Linked DNA regions of Homo sapiens: regions 2 and 3 are each linked to region 1. Evidence: promoter capture Hi-C in human tissues and cell types (Jung and others, 2019). All regions are on one chromosome and are shown on one strand. The core of a region is centred on a gene start or on the middle of the fragment in contact, and the rest is flanking DNA. Distances in the headings are between cores, read along the strand shown.

Region 1 (3,933 bases), core at 1,033-3,532:
CATGTTCACTTCCCTGAGCCTTTAAAAATCTGTTTCAGCTCCGCTCAGCATGGACCTATCTCCAGGCTTGTTGAACCACCCAAGCAGCAAGTCTGCACCATCCTCTAGGGTCTTTGCCAAGCATTAAGTCCCATATCCTGAGAAAATGCCCTCACATTCCTGTATTCTCCTTTATCCTGCCTCCTTGATCAAGCGCCTTCAAAATCCAGTTCCTTCCTTCTAGTACATGGGGGTGAATTTTTCACAGTTTGAGGGAGGTACAGTCTCTTTCTAGCTCATCAGTGTTGCCATAATATTCTTGGCTTGGTGATGTTGCGACTTACCTCTAGTGATTGGTCTGGCAACCAGGCAAGAAGTTGAGGATCCTGAGAAGCCCTCCTTGGCCCGTGGGGACAGAACTCTGTGGTGTTGGCCCATATGGGTAGTTTCAGATCATAACAGGGAAGGATGAGCCACCTCTGCAGGCTCTGAGGGCTTAGAAGAGTTTGAGAGCTCAAAATATTTGGAGGCATCCACCCAAATGTCCCCATCCCGTGCACAAGAGCTCCATGTTTTCCCAACCAGTGCTCTGATCTTTGTGTAATGATAATCATCTTTGAAGCTAGGCAAGCCTATTAAATCCATAGTTTGGTCTTCTGCTTTTTCTACACTGAATGGAGTGAATATGGGCCCCATTCCTGGAGGCCCTCAGGCCTTCACAAGTGGCTTTCAATTGCTCCCTAACTGCCTACAGCTTTTCATTATCCTAATGTAGAGCCTCAATTCAATTGAGCAACAAGCAGCCAATTCCATTGTCCTTGGATACCTTGCTTCTCTCTGACCTCTCAAATGCCTGAATCCTCTCTCCATCCGGGGCTTTCCCGTCCACCAGAACATTCTTCCAAGTCACTGACATTGAACGTTTTAGGCAGGGCTCAGTGGCCCGTGCCTGTAATCCCAACACTTTGGGAGGACAAGGCAAGAGGATCACTAAAGGCCAGGAGTTCAAGACCAGCCTGAGCCTTGCTCTGTTGCCCAGGCTGGAGTGCAGTGGCATGATCATAGCTCACTGCAGCCTCGAGCTCCTGCGCTCAAGCAATCCTCCCGCCTCAACCTCCTGAGTAGTTGGGACTCCAGGCATGAGCCACCATGCCTGGCCGCAACATTCAGATGGATTTTTAAACTACCTGAGCTAAGTTAATTTCCTCATAGATTGGATGTGGATGTGAGAGCAAAAGAAGAGTCAAGGATGACCCAAGGGTTTGCTTTGAGCACATTCCTCAGTGCTTCCAGGGCATATGGCCTCTGAATGGTGCCCATGGGCTTATAAATCCATCTCCTCCCAAGAGATAACACATTTATTTTGTCCCTGGACCTTATGAAAGTTGTCAGAATCAAAATAGAATCACTAGTGTTTTTTAAGGAAAACAACAAACAAACAAAAAACCTGAACTGGATGCAGTGGTTCATGGCTGTAGTCGCAACTCAGGAAGCTGAGGCAGGAGGACTATTTGAGCTCAGGAGGTTGAGGCTGCAGTGAGCTATGATCACACCATTGCACTCCAGCCTGGGCGACAGAAAGAGGCCCATCTCTAAAAAACAAACATAAAAAGACTTCACTCTCATCACTCTTGAGATTAAGGATTTACCTAAGTAGTAAAATATGTCAGATCAGATTCTGGCCTCAGGAACTCTGAATCTGGGATGTGAAAAGGTTTCTGGAGAGGCATTCTGTTTCTCATATCATTAACCACAGGAAGATATTATTTGGTATACAAGAGGACATTGCTTAAAGAGGTGAGAAACAGAAACTATCTCTCCCTTATATTTCTCCAAATACCTTGTAAAGTTGTGAGTTAAAGAAAAAAGAATGATGTTCACTCAAAGGGGAGATGCAAAAATAAAAAGGTAAAACCTTTTCCCTTACCCTAAGGAGATAATGTGTGCATTTTAAAAAAGTTCTAATATTGTTTCTGCAAGTCAATATATAAGCATTATTGAAAAGTCCAATCTTGCCTGTGTTTTACAGCTCTCAGCTCCTTTCAGGAAGCAACTAAATCAGAAAACAGTGTTCTCTCTTCCTTGGAGCTGGCACAGGTTTTGATAACATCGATTGAATGCCAAGCGTAAGTACAGATTGGAAGTTAGAAGTATTGCTATTGACCGTTTTCTAATATGTCCTTCAGCTCAGTAATTAATCGATTTGTGACAAAATGAATAAGAAGCTGAGGTCTTCTAAGAGCTTACCATGTGGCAGACGCGAGCTCAGTGCTGTACATTCGCATTCATGCTCTTCATCCCTGTCTCTCAAGCCACTCGTCACACCCACACTCTCCGGGCCAGGAGGCTTGCACAACCTGCACTGGGAAACTTTCTCCCACCTGTTCTTGACTCCTGAAACCCCTCCACGGTGCCATCAGCCTGATCCACTAATAGCAAAACGCCTCACATCCCAAACTAACTTCCAAATAGTCCCTCCTTGTTCTGACAAAAACTGACTCTTCCCTGAGGACGATGCTCACATCTTCTCTCATGCGCTGGCTGTTTTTCTTTTTCTTTTTTTGAGATGGAGTCTCCCTCTGTAGCCAGGCTGGAGTGCAGTGGTGCGGTCTCAGCTCACTGCAACCTCCACCTCCCGGGTTCAAGTGGTTCTCCTACCTCAGCCTCCCAAGTAGCTGGGATTACAGGCACACACCACCACACCCAGCTAATTTTTGTATTTTTAGTGGAGACGGGGTTTCACCATGTTGACCAGGATGGTCTCAATCTCTTGACCTCGTGATCTGCCCGTCTCAGCCCCCCAAAGTGCTGGGATTACAGGCGTGAGCCACTGCGCCCAGCCACTGGCTGTTTTTCATTCCAGGCCCTCCTGCCACCTCCTGCAGACCTGGAGGTGATGGAGGGACCCTGCTGGTCCTCTTTTCCCCTTCCAGAACCTTCTCCTTCCCTTCTACTGCAAATCTCGTACCATCATCATCTATCACCCCTGAAACTGTCCCTAGAAACTTTATACAATTAATCAGAAGAGAAGGGAGGGAGAGAAACAAAAATAAGCCAAGCTTGCACATACTCAGTGTTAGTCATGGGGTCAGCTGTTCTCTGATCCTTCCTCATAGTGTTTTGCTACCTATTGCTCCAGAATCACACAGACCCTGTCACAAGATTAGAGTCCCCCTTCACTGCTCCACAGATAACAACTGAACATTGTGAAATGTTGCTTTCCATTTGAGATATTCTTGTAGGTCATGCATACTGATGAAACTACTGACGCCAGCTGGTCTGAAGGACCCCACGAGAAGCTGACTCACTGAAGAATGCAGTTTCTACATCCTGATGATTTCATCCCCCTTTCCCCAACCAATCAATGACTATAGTTTTTCAGCCCCTCACCCCCCATAATCCCCTTGAAAACCTCAGCCTAGAACTCTTCGGGGAGATGGATTTGAGGGTCTTCTCCCATCTGCTCACTCGGCCTCCCTGCTGTCATCAAACCCTCTCTCTGCTGCAAAGCCTGCTGTCTTGGTGTATTGGTCTGTTTCTGCACAACAGGCATACAAACATGTTGGTCCTGTAATACCCCTGCCCAACATTGTTCACCACCTTTTTCAACAACATCAGTTCTCAGCCCATTGGCATCCTCCCCAATACTTCTCCTCTCTTTTCTGAGCATGTTCAATGCATAGATAATAATCTTTCCAAAACTCCACCATCATAGGTCATTAAACTTCTCTCCTCCTTCAGGCATCTTGACCTCTACCCTCCTAGAAACAGTCACTCACTTTGATGGCAATACATGGATCTTGTCATGCACATTCATTGCAGTCCTTAGCCCCTTTTAACTTCTAATTACTCTGGGGCTCAGTCGTTGCTGTTGTTTTCATCTCTGTCTCTACTTACTCCGTTGGAGATCTCATGTGGTTCCATGGCTTTAAATACTACCCACACACTGATAAC
Region 2 (3,933 bases), core at 722-3,221, 130 kb before region 1:
GCCGGCCATGGTGGTACACACCTGTGATCCCAGCTACTCGAGAGGCTGAGGCAGGAGAATCGCTTGCATCTGGGAGGCAGAGGTTGCAGTGAGCTAAGATAGCGCCACTATACTCCAGCCTGGGCAACAGAATGAGATTTCATCTCAAAAAAAAAGCAATCAAGATTGTGAGTTCAGCACGCACTAAAATTTCTCTGTCTGCTTCTACTGTATATAAATGCTTTCTATGCCAAATACGTAGACATTTTAGAAAATTATTAAATTGTCCCAAAGAAGAAAAAAAGTTGTACATTGTATTCAAAAGCAAGAAATAACCACCGCTATGGAGGAAGAATACAAATGCATTAACTCATGAACTAAACACAGCTAAAGTAGAAATGAGTGAATTAAAATGTGGAACAGAGGAAATACCCAGAACATAGCATAGAGAGATAAAAACATGAAAATTGTTTTTAAAATTAGTTAAAACACATGGAAAACAGGAGAATTTGATGAACAGACTTTCAGTAGGAGAGTATAGAAAGAATAAGGAGAGAAAACATTCAAATTTTTTGGGAAATTTCTAGGAAAAATGAAAGCTATAAATCAGAATGAAAATATCCACCAGGATTAATGAAGTTAAAATCTCCGTACATACCATGTTAAACTGCAAAATTTGCAGAATTTAAAACTGAAAATACTGTAAGTGATCAGAGAAAAAATTAGATTGCCCACAAAAGAAATATCACTAATAGACTTTTCATGAACAATAAAACAAAACCAAACCAAAAAAATGCCAGAAGAAAGCTAAGTACTATCTTAAAAACAGTTGAGGCAAAATAGCTATTAACTTGGAGTTCTGTTCCCGGACCATCTTTTAAGAATGAGAGCAAAATGGAAACATTTTCAGAGACATCAGGACCTAGGAAATATACTCTCTCAGATGTTTGCTGGAAGGACAGCTAAAGAATATACCTCCACAAGAAGACTGAATCCACAATAAAGAAATGTTTCTTTTTAAACATTTTTTTATTTAACTTTTATTTTAAGTTCAGGCGTACATGTGCAGGTCTGTTATATAGGTAAGCTTGTGTCACGGGGGTTTGTCGTACAGATTATTTCATCACCCAGGTATTAAGCCTTGTACTCATTAGTTATTATTTTTCCCCATCCTCTCCCTCCTACACTTCACCCTCTGAAAAAACCCCAGTGTGTGTTGTTTCCCTCTTTGTGTCCATGTGTTCTCATCATTTTGCTTGCATTTGTAAGTGAGAACATGCAGTATTTAGTTTTCTATTCCTCTGTTAGTTTGCTAAGGATAATGCCTCCAGCTCCACCCATGTTCCTGCAAAGGGCATAATCTTGTCATTTTTCCTGGCTGCGTAGTATTCCATGTTGTATATGTACAACATTTTCTTTATCCAGTCTACCACTGATGGGCATTTAGGTCGATTCCATGTCTTTGCTGTTGTAAATAGTGCTGCAATGAACATATGTGTGCATGTGTCTTTATGATAGAACAATTTCTACTCCTTTTGGTATATACCCAGTAATGGGATTGCTGGGTCGAGTGGTGTTTCTGTTTTAGGTCCTTGAGGAACAGAGGGCATAAGTTTCAAGGATCAAGACACAAATGCGGCAGAAACAGGATTCTAGTATTTCTTCCAACAGAGTTGTGAGTCGGGAAGTATTCCAAGATAACCCCAAATGTCCTTGCAATCCTATCATAATTAATAAATCCTAAAGCAGTAACAGAAAGAGGAAGACAAAAAAGAAAAGAAGAAAAGAAAGAGAAAAAATGTTGTGATTAAAATAAGCTTGAACTGAGACGTAGGTGTTAACATGGTGTTCAGATAAGGAGAGTGTTTGAAAATAGCACAGAATGTAACTATATTGCCATGTTACAGAGAATATAGACATTGGTGAATTTTAAGTTTTGAAAAAATATATAAGTATACACATTAAAACTTTATTAACACTAATAGACTAGAAATGCAATAAATAAATTTCATATCAGTAGAAAGAAATAAAAGAAATGAACGGACCGCATAGCTATACACCATCCTATGATGATAGTGGCCCTTGGGGTGCGGACTGGGAACACTAGGGTTGGAGGCTAAAGAGGATTTTAGTTTTAACTCTAATGCTTTATTGCCTTAAAAAAATACTTCAAGCACATATGACAAAATTTGAAAAGTTAATATTTCTAGGTGTTAACATTTCTAGGAATATAGGTTTTTGTTACATCATCCTTTATACTTTCTCAAATTAAAATACCACAAGCAAATAGGACAAAATTTGAAAAGTTAATATTTCTAGGTGTTACCATTTCTAGGAATATGGGTTTTTGTTACATTATCCTTTATACTTTCCCATATTTTTATTTTATTTCCCATTACCCTTTATACTTTCCCATATTTATTCAAAACAAAAAAATGGAAAGCTTCTGTGCTTATTCTGAGCTGTTATCCAAGTGTGGGTAGAACATGAATGAACTCCAAAGCAGTCCAGGTTCAAGTCCATGAAGTCTAGCAGATGAGCTCAGCTCCCGTCCGGAGCAGACACAGGGCTGTAATGCATCCCCCATCTGTTGTGTACAGGTGAGAAAAATTCTTAATGGAAGAGAACTCCAGTGAACTTAAAGGGTCATTGCCTTTTAAACACTAGTAGTTTATAAAAGCCCCATTATCTTATGCTCTCTGTTGGTTTGAATTACTCGTTCCTGGCTTCAGTGTGCAAGCAGTGGAACAAAGATATCAATATAGAAACTGCCATAGCCGGGGGTCAGCAGGGGGTTACCCAATTAGAGAACCCTTAAGAAACCACAGAAAAGAAAATAACTTCTCTGTCATAATAAGGACCCTCTCCACGGGAGATGGAACAATCACTCTGTGTGTTAGTTTTCTCTTGCAGTGGGTGAATCATGGAGCACAATGAGAAACAGTAGATTGTCTTCTGTGAATGATGGACCCTGGCGGCGGGTTGCCCATGGGATTAGTTGTTCCCTGGTACAGCTGTTAGCACTCCACCCACGCATAAGGGAAAAGGAGTTAGAAAAGACAACACAAAGGGCAAATCAGTGAATGGGCTGTGTTTGCATTTCTCTCAACGGACATTTACATGAGAAGCATTCTCAAATGAGCTGCATGCTCTTGGAATATAGCAAGATCACGCTTATTGGCTTAAGGAAGTCCTGTAAATATCCTCCTCATTCTTCAATGGTGGATCTTAGTCTCACTGGTCAGAAGGCTTCCTCTTTATTGCAGAGTCAGGAATGGCTCAGGGCAGGCACTAGATATGGATATTGATGCTACAGTCTCTACCAAAGATGGCAAAAGCCCAACTCAGGCAGTGGCAGTGGGGATAGAGAATAGGCTATAGATCTCAGAGAAGTTTTAGGGGTAGAATCATAGGAATTCGTGGCTGGTTACCTGCGCAGGAGTTGTGAGTCGGGAAGTATTCCAAGATAACCCCAAACTTTCTTGCAATCCTATCAATTGACTTAGGAAATAAGAAATAGAAGTGCTAAAGGAGAGATGGGGGTGGCAGGCAGGACAATTAGATGAAGTCTTGGAGACGTTGAGGAACATATGGACCTTTGTGGGGTAGATCCGGTAAGGAACTGGAAATGTGCAACCGGAGGTTACGTAGAGATCAGGAGATGGCAATTTAGAAATCACAGGTGCAGTGCTGGCAGCTGATTCGCAGGTGTGGGCGGGACTGGCAAAGGTAGCATATGATGTGAGAGTCCTCCAGTCAAAGACTTCTCACAGCCATGGGGGTTTCACGGAGTAGCTTCCTGAAAGGGACTGTGAGAATGGTAAGCAGGTGAGACCCCAGCCCCCATTTAAGTATAGATCAGCACTTTCTCATTTCCAAAGTAAGATCTCTACAATAGGTTTCAAATGAAGAGAGGATCCTATGGCTCAAAAATTTTTCTGAAAACCCTTGCTC
Region 3 (3,933 bases), core at 625-3,124, 140 kb after region 1:
TCCTGAGTAGCTGGGATTACAGGTGTGTGCCACCATGCCCAGCTAATTTTTGTATTTTTAGTAAAGACAGGATTTTACCATGTTGGCCAGACTGGTCTCGAACTCCTGACCTCAAGTAATGGGCCCACCTTGGCCTCCCAAAGTGCTGGGATTCTCAACCAAGCCCAGTTGAGAACTGCTCTTTTAACGGGGGTTGGAGGGTACTTCGTTTTTTGTACAGAAGCTTTATTAATGGCATTGAATGCCATATCAAGCATTAAAGCAAGCCTAGTGACAAGATGTTGCTGTCCTTCCCTTTCATTTCTGTCTCTATTCCCAAATGACAACAGCCATTTGAATCAGAGATACATGCATAGATTGGCCTTGACTTCTGCCATAAGGAATTACTCACAGGGTGTGTTGCAATTGTCTTCAAGGATGTCTTTCAATAAAAAGAGCATTTGACAATCTTGGCAAAGCCGGGCCTAAGCCCCCTGCTCTAAGCTGATGAACTTGGGACTCCCTCTGGGGACAGAGTCAAGTGTTCTGAAAGTCTCCTGCTCACAGAGATTTCACATTCTCAGTTTAGTCTTTCCTGCCAGATAAATGGCCCTAGACACCATGACCAAGTTCATTCACTTTGTCCATCCACCCACCATCCAGTGAACTCCTGGCCTCTAGGCATCTCTTACCAGTGCCAGGGCCTGGACACCACCTCTGTCCACTGCACCTTCCTTTGCCTTCTAGAAGCATTCCATCTAGATCTGCTTTTTCATTTTCATTCTGAACTTCCTGGATCTAAAATGATGTTTATTTCCCCATCAGAATTCCAGCTCCTAGCTAGTTTCCAAAGTCGACAATAGTGAACTTGTTCATCCCGAGATTGTTAGTGACTGATACAGATTTATGAGTGCATGTCCTGGGAAAACATGTCCTTGGAAGAGAGAAAAAAAAAGAAAATTAGAGAGAGAAAGGCCCAATCAAAGGAGAGGAGTGGCAATGTTGTAATCATGGGTACTGCAGGCTAGTAGAGGAAACATTTGCAAGCCTGCACATTTCCAGAACCTTTGAGTATAATTCAGAGCTGCAGCCTCGCCTGCATGTGAGGCTCACCCTGCTTTTGACATGACATGCTGCAAAGCTGTGCCCTTGGAGAACTCTAATGACCTTTCTCACTGCTGGAATCTGTATCCACAGTTTCCCTTGTCCACTATAGTGGCAAGGGCTTCTCTGTTCACTTTCCGAGTGACAGCTGGTGGAGGACAAGAAGCCAGGCTGGGAGGCAGAAGGCTGGAGCTGGCCCATTTCCACCCCAACTCATACAGCAACCTTGGGGAAGCACAGTGGCCTCGCCCTCAGCTTCTTCATCTGTAAAATGAAGAGATTACACTAAACCACTGCTTCCCAGGCTCTTGGATTTTGTACCAAAAATGCTTAAAACAAAGCTCTTTTCAAAAACGTTTTAGCTTTATCTTTCTTTTAAAAAATACTTTTAGACATATTGTCCAATAAAAAAAACATGGGTTGGGGGCAGTGGCTCACACCTATAAGCACTTTGGAAGGCCGAGGCAGGCAGATCACTTGAGGTTAGGAGTTCGAGACCAGCTTGGCCAACTTGGTGAACCCCATCTCTACTAAAAACACAAAAATTAGCCAGGCATGGTGGTAGGCACCTGTAATCCCAGCTACCCGGAAGGTTGAGGCAGGAGAACTGCTTGAACCCAGGAGGCGGAGGTTGCAGTGAGCCGAGATGGTGCCACTGCACTTCAGCCTGGGTCATAAGACAAGACTCCGTCTCAAAAAAATTAATTAATTAATTAATTAATGATAATAAAATAAGATATTTTATACCAACAAGGGAGAAAAACAAAACTTCAAAGTAAAGATCAGTCATTTAAATGAATAAATGTAGTTTCTTAAGAAAACTCACTATAATCTGAATTTTTCTCTTTGGTTGGGAGCCGTCAACATTCTGGCCTGGAATCATCCCTGAGGTCCCTTCTAGCATCATATCCTAGAGAAGGAAAAATTTAAAAGGGAAAAAAAAAAGCAAACCTTTAGGATAGAGTCAAAGCAGCTCCTTCAAAGCCAATAAGGATGCTTTAGAACTCGGGATAATTTCAGGCTCCACATTTAAGCAAAGGCTTTGCCATCCAGTAAGACTTTAAGAGGAAGGATTTAAAAATCCATCTGTTTGCCTCGGGGGACTCAGAGCAAAAGCAAAGTTTCAAGCTGATAGGCTCATGATAATATAACATATTCATTAGGTCATAAAGGGTGAAATACATGACGGCAGGTTTGGAGCCCCTCATTTACACAGCTTTTAGCAAACTCACTTTATATACCCCCAGCTGGAACTGCTTCTCCAAAGCCATTCCCCAGATTGCATAATTGTTCATTATGTCTTCAGGGAGGGTCCCATCTGCAGTCACGAATCCCCATGAAAATTTGTGGGAAAATATCCTTGCTCTTTCATTACATCTAAAATGTGATCACCCGATATTAAAACACAAAGCGCGGCTACATTTTAAAGGTAAACTGCAGAGCTAAATTGAGACTTGACTTAATCCCATTTTTATGGGCTGATTAATGTCCCGAGTAACCAGGCTGGGAGGAAAGTTAATGCCTCTTTCCTTTAATGGAATGCACCATGTTTCTTGCTTTTTATCAGGGGAGCACATTGCTACCACTGTGGCTTCATACAGAACAAGACTCAAAGCGACTGTCAGAACTTTCTCCTTGTGTCAAATGGACCTCAAATTATCCATGCACCAAAATTCTTAAAAGTCCAAGTTTCAATAAAGGAGGGAAAAAAGGAAAATAAATGGGAAGTTGAGATTTCTTCACAAGAAGATAATCGTGTCTGCTTGTGGCAGCTTGAGATGAGATGATGTGTAAACTCTGCCTCAGTGGTAACAGTAATAGCCACTTGTTGAGTAGCTACTCTGTGCAAAGAATTGTGCCAGGCACTTTGCGTATGTCTTCTTCTTCTTTTTTTTTTTTTTTTTTGACAGAGTTTTGCTCTCATCGCCCAGGCTGGAGTGCAGTGGCTCCATCTCGGCTCACTGCAACCTCCGCCTCCTGGGTTCAAGCAATTCTCCTGCCTCAGCCTCCTGAGTAGCTGGGACTACAGGCGTGTGCCACCTCGCCCGGCTAATTTTTTATATTTTTAGTAGAGATGGGGTTTCACCATGTTGGCCAGGCTGGTCTCGAACTCCTGACCTCAGGTGATCCGCCCACCTCGGCCTCCCAAAGTGCTGGGATTACAGGCATGAGCCACCGTGCCCGACCTCTTTGTGTATGTCTTTTTATTTAACCCTCTGAGATAGCTGATATGAGCCACACAGAGGCTGAGCAACCTGCTCAAGGAGCAGACTTAGGCTTGCCTGACTTATGGGCCCCCCTGCCCACCAGATTGACCTCCCTGACTCTTCAGTCTCCCATCTACCTTGGACAGATTCACTTACCCACCAACGTGCAGCAGTTTAAAGAAGACATCCTTTCATTCATCCATTGACTCATCAGTGAAGAAATTAACATTGTATAGCGCTCTTTCCAAAAACAATATGGCCAGGCTGTCTAGATCCCTCCCCTCAACCTTCGCCCTGACCACAACCACCACCCCAAGCACCCTGATCACAGCTACCACCCCAAGCCCCCACCCCAACCTGAGACATGTGGCAATTTCACTCCTTGTCCCTTGAGTCCATACCTCCATAACTCAGCATGTCACATGCATACCCATTGTGAAAAATATCCATTATCACCATAGTATTACCAACACATTATTACAGGGCTTTACATGTCACAGAACTCTTTCTGATGAATTATTTCATTTGATAATTACCTTAGGCTGAGGGAGGAGGGAGAAAGATAAATTATTTAAGGCTGGGCACGATGGCTCATGACCTTAATCCCAGCACTTTGGGAGGCCAAGGCAAGAGGATTGCTTGA

Evidence for each region. The method cuts DNA at HindIII sites, captures the fragments that hold promoters and counts their contacts. A contact is called where the count stands out against the background at its distance.
Region 2: a fragment that was not itself captured here is called in contact with the fragment with the promoter of C10orf126 in region 1 in 2 of the 25 tissues and cell types used here (aorta and mesenchymal stem cells).
Region 3: a fragment that was not itself captured here is called in contact with the fragment with the promoter of C10orf126 in region 1 in 1 of the 25 tissues and cell types used here (aorta).

Annotation. Positions count from the first base shown.
Region 1 is chr10:28,844,757-28,848,689 of GRCh38, reverse strand. C10orf126 (chromosome 10 open reading frame 126) reads right to left here and starts at 2,282. Exons shown (of 5, transcript NR_164114.1): 1 at 2,227-2,282; 2 at 1,427-1,571; 3 at 324-474. The HindIII fragment of the contact is 9,674 bases long and covers 1-3,933 here.
Region 2 is chr10:28,975,124-28,979,056 of GRCh38, reverse strand. No RefSeq gene overlaps it. Among named protein-coding and RNA genes, the nearest start is that of C10orf126, 130 kb to the right of the region's middle. The HindIII fragment of the contact is 3,888 bases long and covers 28-3,915 here.
Region 3 is chr10:28,707,715-28,711,647 of GRCh38, reverse strand. LOC105376470 (a long non-coding RNA gene) reads right to left here and starts at 3,619. Exons shown (of 4, transcript XR_001747282.1): 1 at 3,447-3,619; 2 at 1,910-1,993; 3 at 1,093-1,347; 4 at 682-913. The HindIII fragment of the contact is 4,669 bases long and covers 1-3,933 here.